Linked DNA regions of Homo sapiens: all the other regions are linked to region 2. Evidence: promoter capture Hi-C in 16 types of primary human blood cells and fetal thymus (Javierre and others, 2016). All regions are on one chromosome and are shown on one strand. The core of a region is centred on a gene start or on the middle of the fragment in contact, and the rest is flanking DNA. Distances in the headings are between cores, read along the strand shown. Region 1 holds the start of PAPOLB (poly(A) polymerase beta). Region 2 holds the start of WIPI2 (WD repeat domain, phosphoinositide interacting 2). Region 3 holds the start of RNF216-IT1 (RNF216 intronic transcript 1).

Region 1 (3,449 bases), core at 798-3,297, 330 kb after region 2:
AAGCCAGTCTCAAAGATGACAACACACCAACCAGGTAGAGAGCAGTGGGCAGTCGGTGGGGCAGGAAGAGCATTCTGGTCAGACAGAACAGCATTGTGTGAAGATCCAGGGATGAGAGAGAATGAAGCAAAGGCAGGCACTGCAAGAAGGCCATTGCAGCTGGTGCAGAGGGGAAAGTTGCAGAAGGTGCGGCTAGACAGATAGTTGGGGAAAAGATCTACCTGGCTTGTTATGTATTTTGGATTTTACACTGTGTATAATGGGAGGTCATTGGAGGGATTAAAAGATGACTCTGGCTCCTAGGTAGAGAATACTTTGAAAAGGTCAGTAATAGGAGATTAATTTAGTTGTTGTAGAAGTTGAAATGAGAGTTGATGGTGGCTTGGACTAGAGTTATAAGGGAACAGGTAGAAAGCAGTAGAGGGATTTTAAGTATATTCTGGAGGTGAAATCAACAGAACTTGTAAATGAATTGGATGTTGAGGATGCAAAACAGGGAGGTGTCCAGAATGACTCCCAGGTTTCTTGTATCAAGAGTTGGGTAGAAAGAGATGTCATTTCCTAAAATGGAGACTACTGAGAGAGAAGCAAACTGTGGGAGGATGAGTTAGAGTTCTCTTTAAACTATGTTAAGTTAAAGGCATCCAAATATAGGTGGCAACCACAGGCAGTCAGATAATATGGATCTGGAGTTCAGAAGAGAGTCTGATTAAAATATGAATTAATCTGTAAGTAAGTGGTATTTAAAGCTGTGGAAATCAGCAGATTAACCAGGCAGTGAATGTACATGCAGTGAGGAGAAATGAGGGCTTAGAATGGAAACTGGAGGAACTCCCAACATTTAGAGGTCAAGTAAAGGAGGAGGAATCAGCAAATTTGACTGAGGACTGGCCAGACATGTGGAAGACAAAGAGTATGGTGTCGCAGAGGCCAAGATGAAGCTACCATAGGTCAAAGAAGATGGAAATCATTGGGGTCATGGGTTGGGCAACATGGAGGTCACCAAAGACCTTGCTGATAGCTGTTTTTGAGCATGTAAGCCAATGTTGAAATGGATTAAAAAGAAGGTATTTATATTTCTGGCAATATATGGGATTAATTATCCCAGAAAATCTTTCTATGTAAAGTGCCTGGAAATGTTGGATAAATATAAGAAATCATTTTTTTGAATGCATAGCTGAGTACCCAGGAAAATAAAGGAAGTCTCTAGGGCTGGAAGAAAAAGGGATACCTTGAAACCTCAGGATTGTAGCTGATTCTGAAACTAGAACCGCCCTAGAGGCATTGGCCAGTCTTGGAAACTGAGAAACTTAAGTTTAGCAGCTGTCCAAGAAGAGACAGAAAGCTCTTGGGACCTTAAAAGGTAGGGAGTTAGAATTGAGACCCCTCCAAATACAATTGGAATCCTCAAAGGGTGACACATTGAGTGAAAAAATGGAGTAAGAAGAATCTGCTACCTGGTGAAAGGAGATGGCAAAGGAAGTTCTCTCTCTTGACTTGGGTGGGAAAAACTAAAGACTGTTCCTTAAAAATGAAAACCACATGTCCTCTTACATGTATTTGGGGTTCAAAGTTGCACCATCTAGATGTTGTGGATAATCCCTGGATAAGAAATTACACTGACTGCAATTCTATAGTGTACAAGAACATCTACTGGAAACAAAGCAAATCCTCTTTGGAAGGACACAGCGTCTACACAGGCATTCCAAGCTTCACCAGAAATGAGCTCACAATCCAAAATTACAAGACCCAAGAGGTAATACCACTCTGAGTTCTTGGATAACAACAAACTATACAGTTTCTCAAGAGCATTCGGAATTAGAATAATTAGTTATAGAGTACTAAATAAGTATGTTTAACACGTTTAAAGAAATAAAAGGTAGGGGGAAAAACATGAAAGAACAGAATGCCATCTAAAAGGCAGAGAAGCTTGGAAAAGAACAAAATAGTGAAATATAAGTATTTAAGTGGATATTTCAATGATGCTTAAACAGCAGACTAAATACAACTGAAGAGAGGACTTGGAGGTAATCTGGCATCACCCAGAAAGACACACGGCTTAAGAGACATGGAGGACAGAGTGAGAAGGTTGACAACGTGTCTAGATGAAGAGAATCAGGAGACAAGTGGGAGAACATATTCCCAGGAAGTGCCCAAGAAGCTTCTGGAGATCATAAAAAGCATGACTTCTGATTCGGGAATCATAGTGTATCCTGGGTAAGATTATATTTTTTATTTTTTATTTTTATTTTTAATTTTATTTTTTTTTTTGAGACAGAGTTTCACTCTTGTTGCCCAGGCTGGAGTGCAATGGTGTGATCTTGGCTCACCGCAACCTCTGCCTCTCAGGTTCAAGCAATTCTCCTGCCTCAGCCTCCCGAGTAGCTGGGATTACAGGCATGCACCACCACGCCCGGCTAATTTTGTATTTTTAGTAGTGACGGGGTTTCTCCATGTTGAGGCTGGTCTCCAACTCCTGACCTCAGGTGATCTGCCCGCCTCGGCCTCCCATAGTGCTGGGATTACAGGCGTGAGCCACTGCGCCCAGCCTGGGTAAGATTATTAAAGAGAAATCTATGCCTGGACACACAGTGGTGGGATCACAGGGCACTAGGGACAGACACTTTTATAGCTGCCATAAGAAAAGACAGACGAGCAGTAGTTCACCTAGCTGCGGAATTCTCAACGGGAACCAGAGGACAGCAGTATCGCGCCCTTAAAGCATGGCCAGAACACAAATGTCGACCTCGAAATGCTGCCCCAGCTAAACCAATGTCCAGCAACGGCCCAAGAAACAAGACAGAAGCTGCTTTCCACCGCGGGTTCCCACCACGAAGGGGTCTTTGGACTTCCAAAGGGTGCACGCTAGGGTGAAGAGTGCTGAGGGTGCCCCCAAAAAGGATGCACATCTGCGATGTCAAGGGACTTGGAGAGCAAAGAATTAGATGGGTAAAGTTGGGCAAATATGTAAAATAGTGGCAATAAAGGGTTGAGTTTGGCCGGTCATCAACAACGTGAATCCTGCCCACCCCCATGTATAGCCCCCCGCGCAGCGGTAGGAGCCCCAGCCCAGAACGCTGTGGCTCCCGTGAGCCCTCGCGCTGGCGGCGGGTGCGCAGGCGCCCGCGCGTGTACGGTAGGTTCTGGAACGCAGCCGCTGAGGGGTCTGGCGCCATGTTGGGGCTGAGGGGAAGGAGGAGAAGCTCCTGAAGCGGCGGGCGCGCAGCGGGAGTGGGAGTGGGGTCGGACCAGGGCAGCTAGAAGCCCTGCCCTTCCGCCTCAGCGGATCATGACCCGGGCGGCGGCCGCGAAGGTCGCGGTGGTGGGGGACGTGCCCTGGCGGGGCGGGCGCTGAAAGATGATGCCGTTTCCGGTGACAACCCAGGGACCACCGCAGCCGGCGCCGCCGCCGAATCGCTACGGCGTCTCCTCGCCTATCAGTCTAGCGG
Region 2 (3,991 bases), core at 1,155-3,654:
CAAGGTCTCTCTGGCAAGTCAAAGTTATGAAATCTCAAAGTAACAGAAATCTCTTGAACTGTAATAACTTCGGGGAGCATGGAGAAGTGGGTAAGTGTGAAAATGTCCAAGTGTGAAAAGGTCCTATTTCAGGCCAGAGTGACACTCTTCTGTGACACAGGGAACATGGCAGTCCAGCTGAAGTAACAGTAAAAGAGAATGCTTTTCTCTATTTGATTTCATTCTGATAGAAATAATTAGTGAAAAACTGAAAGAGTGGCCGACAATGTTTTGGAAACTCTCTAATTTATACAAGGCATAAACCACCCTACTACTACTACCATTTCTTACTGGTCTCAAAATACTGTGGCCTTGGGCTTAAAAACCAAATTAGAATTGGTTTGGGATGTGTCCTTTTCCCTATCTGGATTAACATAGTCTATTCCACTTGAACTGCAACAGGTTGTCCGAATTGTTTGTTGTTCTGGCTTTTGGTCACACAGAACGCTACAGTACTTGGGAGTTTTCATCTTTACACGTTGTTATGCTATTATTTCTAAATTCACTGTCTTCAGAATTCTACTCTGTAAACAGAAAAAAAAACAGCATGGCAGAGCAGAAAGAACATTGGAAGAGAGCTCAGGAGGCGAGATTCCACTCCTGCCCCCGCTCCACTATTAACCAATTCCAAAACCCAGACCAGCTTGGAGCCTTTCGGAAGGATTTCCTCATCTGTAGTTGGATGAGGTGATTTGCCCCTTCCGACTCTCAATACAGTCCCACTGTGCGACTGTCTTCACAGCTTTGGGGAGGTGCTATTGAGTGCCTGCTGTACACCACCCACTGAGTGTTGTCCATTCTACAATTCACTTTTAATTTCCTAAAGAATCTTACCTTCTGCTATGTTAATTCCACTCAGCCAGTAACAACTCAACCAATGACTTAGTAAGATGCCAAATGCCCCACTCCTTCTCTTTCCTCACTTCCTCTTACTCACTTCCAAGATGGCTCTCCTCCCTGCCAACCCCATAACTCACCCTTCTCTCTCCAGAAAGCTCGCTCATCTATTAACCATCCCCACAAGTCCTCCTCCCAGGCAGCATCCAACCCGTATCAGTGGGGACAAACAGCGTTCCGAATGCACGGGCTGGCATTAAGGCCTTCTCTTGCCCTGAGGATGACCCACCCGCTGGAGCTCTGAGACTCCTGGGGCACTGGTCCGTAACGCCTCTCTTGGCTCAGTTTCTCCCTAGCTAGGTCAGATGCCAAGGTTATTGCTAAGTTTGTTACTTGCTGGAGAAGACATCAAAGTTGATGTCCCAAAAAGAACAGGGAGGGCCGCGCACGGTGGCTCACACCTGTAATCCCAGCACTTTGGGAGGCTGAGGTGGGCGGATCACTTGAGGTCAGGAATTTGAGACCAGCCTGACCAACATGGTGAAACCCTGTCTCTACTACAAATACAAAAAAGTTAGCTGGGCACAGTGGCGCGTGCCTGTAGTCTCAGCTACTCGGGAGGCTGAGGCAGGAGAATCGCTTGAACCCAGGAGGCGGAGGTTGCAGTGAGCTGAGATGGCACCACTGCACTCCAGCCTGGGCAACAGAGCAAGACTCTGTCTCAAAACAAAACAAACCCCAAAAAACAAAAACAAACAAAAAAACAGTGAGAAACGAAGAAAAGAAAATCAAGAGAGAGAGAAGGGTCTTAAGACGATGAAAAGACAAGGAGAAGGGCCTGATTCAAAGGAGAGTGAGTGGGAGACGCTGAGCAAGCAGCGGGAAGAGGAGACGAGAGGAGAGGAAGCGACCCACACCCAGCGCTCCACAGGCGGCCAAGACAAGTCAAGCCCCAAAGTTCGGCCCCAACTTTGCGAGAAGTAGTTAAGTCTGAAGCCAGGGGGCCTCCCCGCAAGAGGGTGAAAGCAGCCCCCTCTCCACCACCTCTCCCGCTCCGGGACCGCAGCTCCAGGCCAGCACCCGAGGGTCTCCCTGGAGGGCGCCCCTCCCTGCACGCCCCGGGCCCGCCCCTGGGGACGCCTCTGCGCGCCTTGGCCCGCGGGGAGGCCGAGCCTGCGACGCCGCCGAGCTTGGCAGCGAGGCCCTCCCCCTAGCCCGGGTCCGACCCTGGCCTCACCCCGACTCCGACCCCCGACCCCGGCCTTACGTGTTGTCCTGGTTGAAGTTGGCGAAGAGCAGCTGGCCGGCGCCGGCCTCCCCGCTCTGGCTCGCCAGGTTCATGGCTGGGCGCGCGGCGAGTGGGCCCGGCCGGGGAGGGCGCGCGCGCGAGGGCGGGTCAGGCTGCACTCAGGGTCGGCGCCGGGCCCCGCTCGCCGCCTCGGTCGCCGCCACTCGCCACCCTGGGATCAACCGCCGCCTCATCCCGTCCCCGCTCTTGTTTATGCTCCAGAGCCGGGGCACCCGGTACGCCTGCGCGGCCCCGCCCCCGCGACGCACGGCCTCGAGCGGCGCAGTCGCACTGCGGAGGCCCCGCCCTCTCACCGCCTGCCTGGGCTTGGGTTCCGGTGGATCACGCAGGCGTGGGGACGCGTCGGGGCGCGCTGGGCCTGGCTGAGGGCGAGCGGCGGCCGCTCATGCGCATGGGGCAGAGCTGGCGGGAGTCTGTTTTCTGCGTACCCTCCTCTTAATAACACTCAATGGCCAGGCACGGTGGCCTGTAATCCCAGCATTTTGGGAGGCCAAGGCGGGCGGATCACCTAAGATCAGAAGTTCGAGACCAGCCTGGCCAACATGGTGAAACCCCGTCTCTACTAAAAATACAAGAAAAATTAGCCGGGCTTGGTGGTGTACGCCTGTAATCCCAGCTACTCGGGAGGCTGAGGCAAGATAATCGCTTGAACCCAGGAGGCGGAGATTGCAGTGAGCCGAGATCATGCCACTGCAATCCATCCAGCCTGGGCCATAGAGCGAGACTCTGTCTCAAACAACAACAAAAACAAAAACAAAAACACCCCAATGGGCCCTCCATGTGCCAATCACTGTGCTGAATGCTTCTGCGCATTACCTTATCATTTTATTATTTTGAAAGACAAGGTCTCGCTCTGTTGCCTAGGCTGGAGTGCAGAGGCTCAATCACAGCTCACTGCAGCCTCAAACTCAGGCTCAAGCGATCCTCCCACCTTAGCCTCCCAAGTAGCTGGGACCACAAATGCATGCCACCACACCCTGCTAACTTTTAAGTTTTTTGTAGAGATGGGGTGGGGGCGGGGGGGGTCTTACTCTGTTGCCTAGGCTGGTCTCGCACTCCTGGCCTCAAGTGATGCTCCCACCTCGGCCTCCCAAAGTACTGGGATTACAGATGTGAGCCACTGTGCCCAGCCACATTATCTTATTTGATGCCCATTACAATCCTAAGTAGAGAATAGTATATCTTAATTTTACAGATTTGAAAATCGAGGCTCAGAAATAATTATTAGCCAAGTGCTAGATCTGAGACTGGAAACGTCCTGTTTCTCCAAGGTCCATACTGTCTGGGTTCCTGGGACAGAATCGTCCCTTAAATTTATTCATTCATTCAACAGTATTTAGGACGCACCTCTCATGTGAACTAAATAGGCCTCCTCCTTTCCCTCAGAGAAGTTATAATGGGGAGATATTTAAATATAAATAGAAGGCCAGGTGTGGTGGCTCTTACCTGTAATCCCAGCACTTTGGGAGGCTGAGGCGGGTGGATCACCTGAGGTCGGGAGTTCCAGACCAGCCTGGCTAACATGGTGAAACCCCGTCTCTACTAAAAGTACAAAAGTTAGCTGGGTATGGTGGTGGGCACCTGTAATCTCAGCTACTAGGGAGGCTGAGGTGGGAGAATTGCTTGAGCCCCACAGGTGGAGGTTGCAGTGAGCCGAGATTGCACCTCTGCACTCCAGCCTGGACGGACGACAGAGTGAGACTCCATCTAAAAAGTAAAATAAAATAGGCTGGGCATGGTGACTCACGCCTGTAACCCCAGCACTTTGGGAGGCTGAGGCAGGTGGATCACCTGAGGTCATGAGTT
Region 3 (3,832 bases), core at 103-2,602, 490 kb before region 2:
CCAACGGTTTTTCCTAGCAGCGTGGGCCCGCATGGCCTCAGGTGCCTGTGTCTGCTGAGTGGACAGGTCTGCAAGCATTTCTCCATCATCCCCACCCTGAGAAGAGGCAGCAGCCGGCCACAGAAGTGGCACACACAGAGCCAGAGTGCCAGTGGGCTGTGACCCATTGTCTAAGGTTGCTGTGGCACAGGGAGATGGTCATCTTTGTAGCATTCTTTAGAAAACCACTGGGGGTTACCACCCTTAGGGGCTACACAGATCCCGTCTTCATGTTGAACTTGCTTTTGAATTTGGCCTTTTCACCTCCTATCCTCCTTTTCTGGGTGTTTCCCGTTTATGTAGTCAGGATTGAGGGATGGCTGTTGATGAGATGCCATGGCCAGTCAGTAAGCCGGAGTGTTGAAGCTGAGCAGTGTGGTTTCGCAGTGTGGTCTGGTAAGTTGCAACCAGTGAGGCTTGGGCCAACATACCAGACAGAAAACTATCCCCAGTTGAGGAATGGGACTCGTCCTTGACACTTCCTAAGCAAGAACAACATTGAAAGGTTGTCAGTGTGGTCAGTGGGTAGGGTTAATCAAGGAGGAGGAAGACACTGTCCTTGGTGCTACAGGTCCTGCCTAGCCCTAGAGGCTTGAGAACACCCCTTGGAATAAACTAGAGAGGGAGGCACACTGGGTCAGGGCTACAGATTTCCTCCCAGAAGCTTAGAAGCTGCTGGGGACTTGGTAATCCACAGTTGTTTCTGTGTAGCTATAAAATGTGACGTGTTTGGGGCCAAGGATGACTTTTCTCTTTCAGAATAAAGTTTGTATTTTTTCCTAAAACAGGTAAATGATGGGAGATGAAACCAGATGATAATTCAGATTCTGGCCCTAGGTAATTGCTTGGATTTCCTGAGGTAGGGAGGTTCCTACATTAGGCATAGTATGAGAAACATTTAGGGTGCTGCTAAAGGCCCAGGTGGCTCTTCAGTGTCTCTGAAGAACCACAAACGATTCAGGACTTGTCCAAATTATAAGCAAGAGGCTAGGCGTTCAAAGAGCCAGGGACAAGCTGTTGAGGTAAGAACACAGGAGCTGAGACCCCAGTGTGGGAAGGGTCTGGGGTATCTGCGGGGTATGGCTGGAGGCAGCAGCATGAGAGGGAGTGAGGGGTGGGATGGCCTGAAGTCCAGGCTCTCCGCCATGGCCCAGCCAGAGGGGATCTAGGCTGGGTTTTGGACCCAGATAGGAGTGGGTTAGATGTGAGGTGCATTTTGGAGGCGGAACAGAAAGGACAAGCTGGAATGAGTGGGGGTAAAGAGAAAGGAGGAATTGGGTTTTGTTGCATGAGCAGCCAGTGGGTGGCTGTGTCCTTCAGGGATACAGGGGAGCCCAGGGGCCAGAAGTGGTGCTTCAGACATCTTTTGTCTGGGGTGCCTTTTAGATATCCAAGTAGAAGTGTTGAGTGCTGGGCGCGGTGGCTCACACCTGTAATCCCAGCACTTTGGGAGGCCGAGTCGGGCAGATCACAAGGTCAGGAGATCGAGACCATCCTGGCCAACATGGTGAAACCCCGTCTCTAGTAAAATACAAAAAAAATTAGCTGAGCATGGTGGTGCGCGCCTGTAGTCCCAGCTACTCAGGAGGCTGAAGCAGGGGAATCGCTTGAACCCGGGAGGTAGAGATTGCAGTGAGCCGAGATCGCACCACTGCTCTCCAGGCTGGCGACAGGGCAAGACTCCGTCTCAACAACAACAAAAAAAGAAGTGTTGAGTAACCAGTGAGCTGACAAGCCCACCACGTGGAGGACTCGGGTAGGAGACTTGGGCTTGGGGGAGTGGATCGCATTCTATGATGACAGAGCTAGCTGGGGGCAGGGCGGGGGACAAAGGAACCACTTCCCTGTTGGACCTTGAAGGCTGCATTAGAGCATGAAGAGACTTCCGGAAGAGGACACAGAGTGTTAAAGTAGAGGGGAGCGTGTGTTTCCAGGGCGAGCTCTGAGGAGGCTGGAAGCTTCAGGGCCAGCTCGTGGGGGAGATGTCCCTTGTGTGAAGAACGTGGACTTCTTCCTGATTGCAGCAGGAAGTCTATCCATGGTCATTAAACAGGGTAGTGAAATGATCAGATTTAGCTTGTCACATGATTATTCTGGTAGCAGAGGACTGAGGATGTAATGATCCCAGCAAGAGACTCCCAGGACCCTAAGGGACTCGCTGTGCATACAGGGTCCCTATTGTGTTTCTTAAAGCCGACTGTGGAGCCGCCTGGCTCACCTGCCCAGGGACTCTGGCCGCTTAGCAGAAAGGCGGGTGAGGGACCTGGAGGAGCATGATAGTCTCTCCTGCTGAGGGTCTAAAGATGCTCATTCCCACAGGGCCAGTTGTTAGAAATGCAGGCACTCACACAGATACGCTCTTCTCTCAGTGGTGCCTGCCTTTCTTTTTTTGTTTAATTGTTCCTTGCAGTAGCACATTCCATGGGAGATTCCATGACAGGGCTATTCTCTCGATTTCAGTGGTTTTGATTTTGTGTCTGTTGTCATAGCGCCTGGAGCTAAGCCTTATCAAATAATTGCACATCTGGTGATCACTTAGGCTTCCAGAAATGTGAGGCAGGGAGGACCCTCAAGGGACTCTGGTCAGCACTCCTACTGCTGAGAGGCTTCACCGCATTCCCCCAGACTCACCAACAGCCTCGTTACACTTGTTACGGTGTGTGTGCACCAGTGCGCTCAGCGCCTGCATCCTCACAACCCAGCCCCTTGTGAGGCTGGCCGGACCACAGCTTGCCCTGTTCTGCACCATTCTAGGGCTGAAGGATTTGCCCAAAATATGTCACTAGATGGTGACAAACAGGCCCTTAGTCCAGTGCCTTTAGCAGGGGCTGGCTGGAGCAGCATGGCCATGTTCAGATGCCTGTCCCACCACTTGTTAGCTGTGTGCACCGCCCCCCCGCCACCGCACCACCACCACCCCTACCCGAGGGTGACAGGATCCTCCTGAAAAGTCTGTTAGGAGGATTAAATGACTTGATAACTAAGATGTTTCATCCATAAGCACTCAATAAATGGTAGCTGCTGCTGTTATTCATTCCACTGTATCTAATCTCTGTACTCTTAAATTTTACAACTTTACTCAATAACTTTTAAAATATTCTACACTTGTGGCTCCCATAAATTTCCTCTTTGCTCTATTGAGGCCATTTCTAGTCCCTGTGTGATCAGGGTTATTGGAGAGCAACTGATAAACCAGCCATGCTCCCCACTTCCTCTCTAGGAGCTCGGCCTCCTCAGCTTGTCTGCAGACCTTTGCCTCTTAATTTATCCAGTCCAGCTCTCATGTCTTCCCTGATGAAGTGGAGTCGAGAAATCTGCTCCGTCACCTTCTGTGTGAGGAGCAGCCTCTGCAGCTTGTCCCACTGCTGTAGCTCTCACAGTGCAGGGTTTCCTGGAAGCGTGCTTGGAGGGTAGCAGGCCCAGGAGGCACAGTTGTGACTGGAGCCATGGCAGAGCAGCAGTTGATATTTGTCACTACGAGTGCCGGCCTCCTTATAAGCACTCCTTTTATAGATAGGGAAGCTGAAGCTGGGAGAGGTGAGGTCACTCACCTGAGGTCACTTTAGTAAGTAGCCATGGTGGACTACTCAGGCGGGCCCAGAGCCATTTTCCTGACCACCAGGTCATGTGGGGACGCCAGGTGGCATGAATCTCTGAATCTCATTTTTCTCTGCGCTTGGGGAGGTGGTAACGTAGGTCAGTCCTTGGCGATGGTTAGTTCCCTGCCCAGGGCCTGTCAGCCTTAACATTCTTCTGATCCTGTTTATGAAACGCAGGTAATATATTGACATTG

The links. The method cuts DNA at HindIII sites, captures the fragments that hold promoters and counts their contacts. A CHiCAGO score of 5 or more calls a contact.
Region 1: a contact is called between a fragment that was not itself captured here and the fragment with the promoter of WIPI2 in region 2, in 1 of 17 cell types (M2 macrophages). The highest score is 5.7, in M2 macrophages.
Region 3: a fragment that was not itself captured here is called in contact with the fragment with the promoter of WIPI2 in region 2 in 1 of 17 cell types (erythroblasts); the score reaches 5.3 in erythroblasts.

What each region holds. Positions count from the first base shown.
Region 1 is chr7:4,861,720-4,865,168 of GRCh38, reverse strand. All of the region lies in intron 2 of RADIL (Rap associating with DIL domain), which reads left to right. It overlaps PAPOLB (poly(A) polymerase beta), which reads left to right and starts at 3,139. Exons shown (of 1, transcript NM_020144.5): 1 at 3,139-3,449. The coding sequence starts at 3,359. RefSeq lists an enhancer at 3,284-3,449. The HindIII fragment of the contact is 232 bases long and covers 1,932-2,163 here.
Region 2 is chr7:5,188,646-5,192,636 of GRCh38, reverse strand. It overlaps WIPI2 (WD repeat domain, phosphoinositide interacting 2), which reads right to left and starts at 2,404. Exons shown (of 13, transcript NM_015610.4): 1 at 2,144-2,404. The coding sequence starts at 2,217. RefSeq lists silencers at 1,910-1,959, 1,970-2,619. The HindIII fragment of the contact is 15,802 bases long and covers 1-3,991 here.
Region 3 is chr7:5,678,317-5,682,148 of GRCh38, reverse strand. All of the region lies in intron 13 of RNF216 (ring finger protein 216), which reads left to right. It overlaps RNF216-IT1 (RNF216 intronic transcript 1), which reads left to right and starts at 1,688. Exons shown (of 3, transcript NR_046834.1): 1 at 1,688-1,795. RefSeq lists enhancers at 1,627-1,686, 1,787-1,886. The HindIII fragment of the contact is 1,294 bases long and covers 706-1,999 here.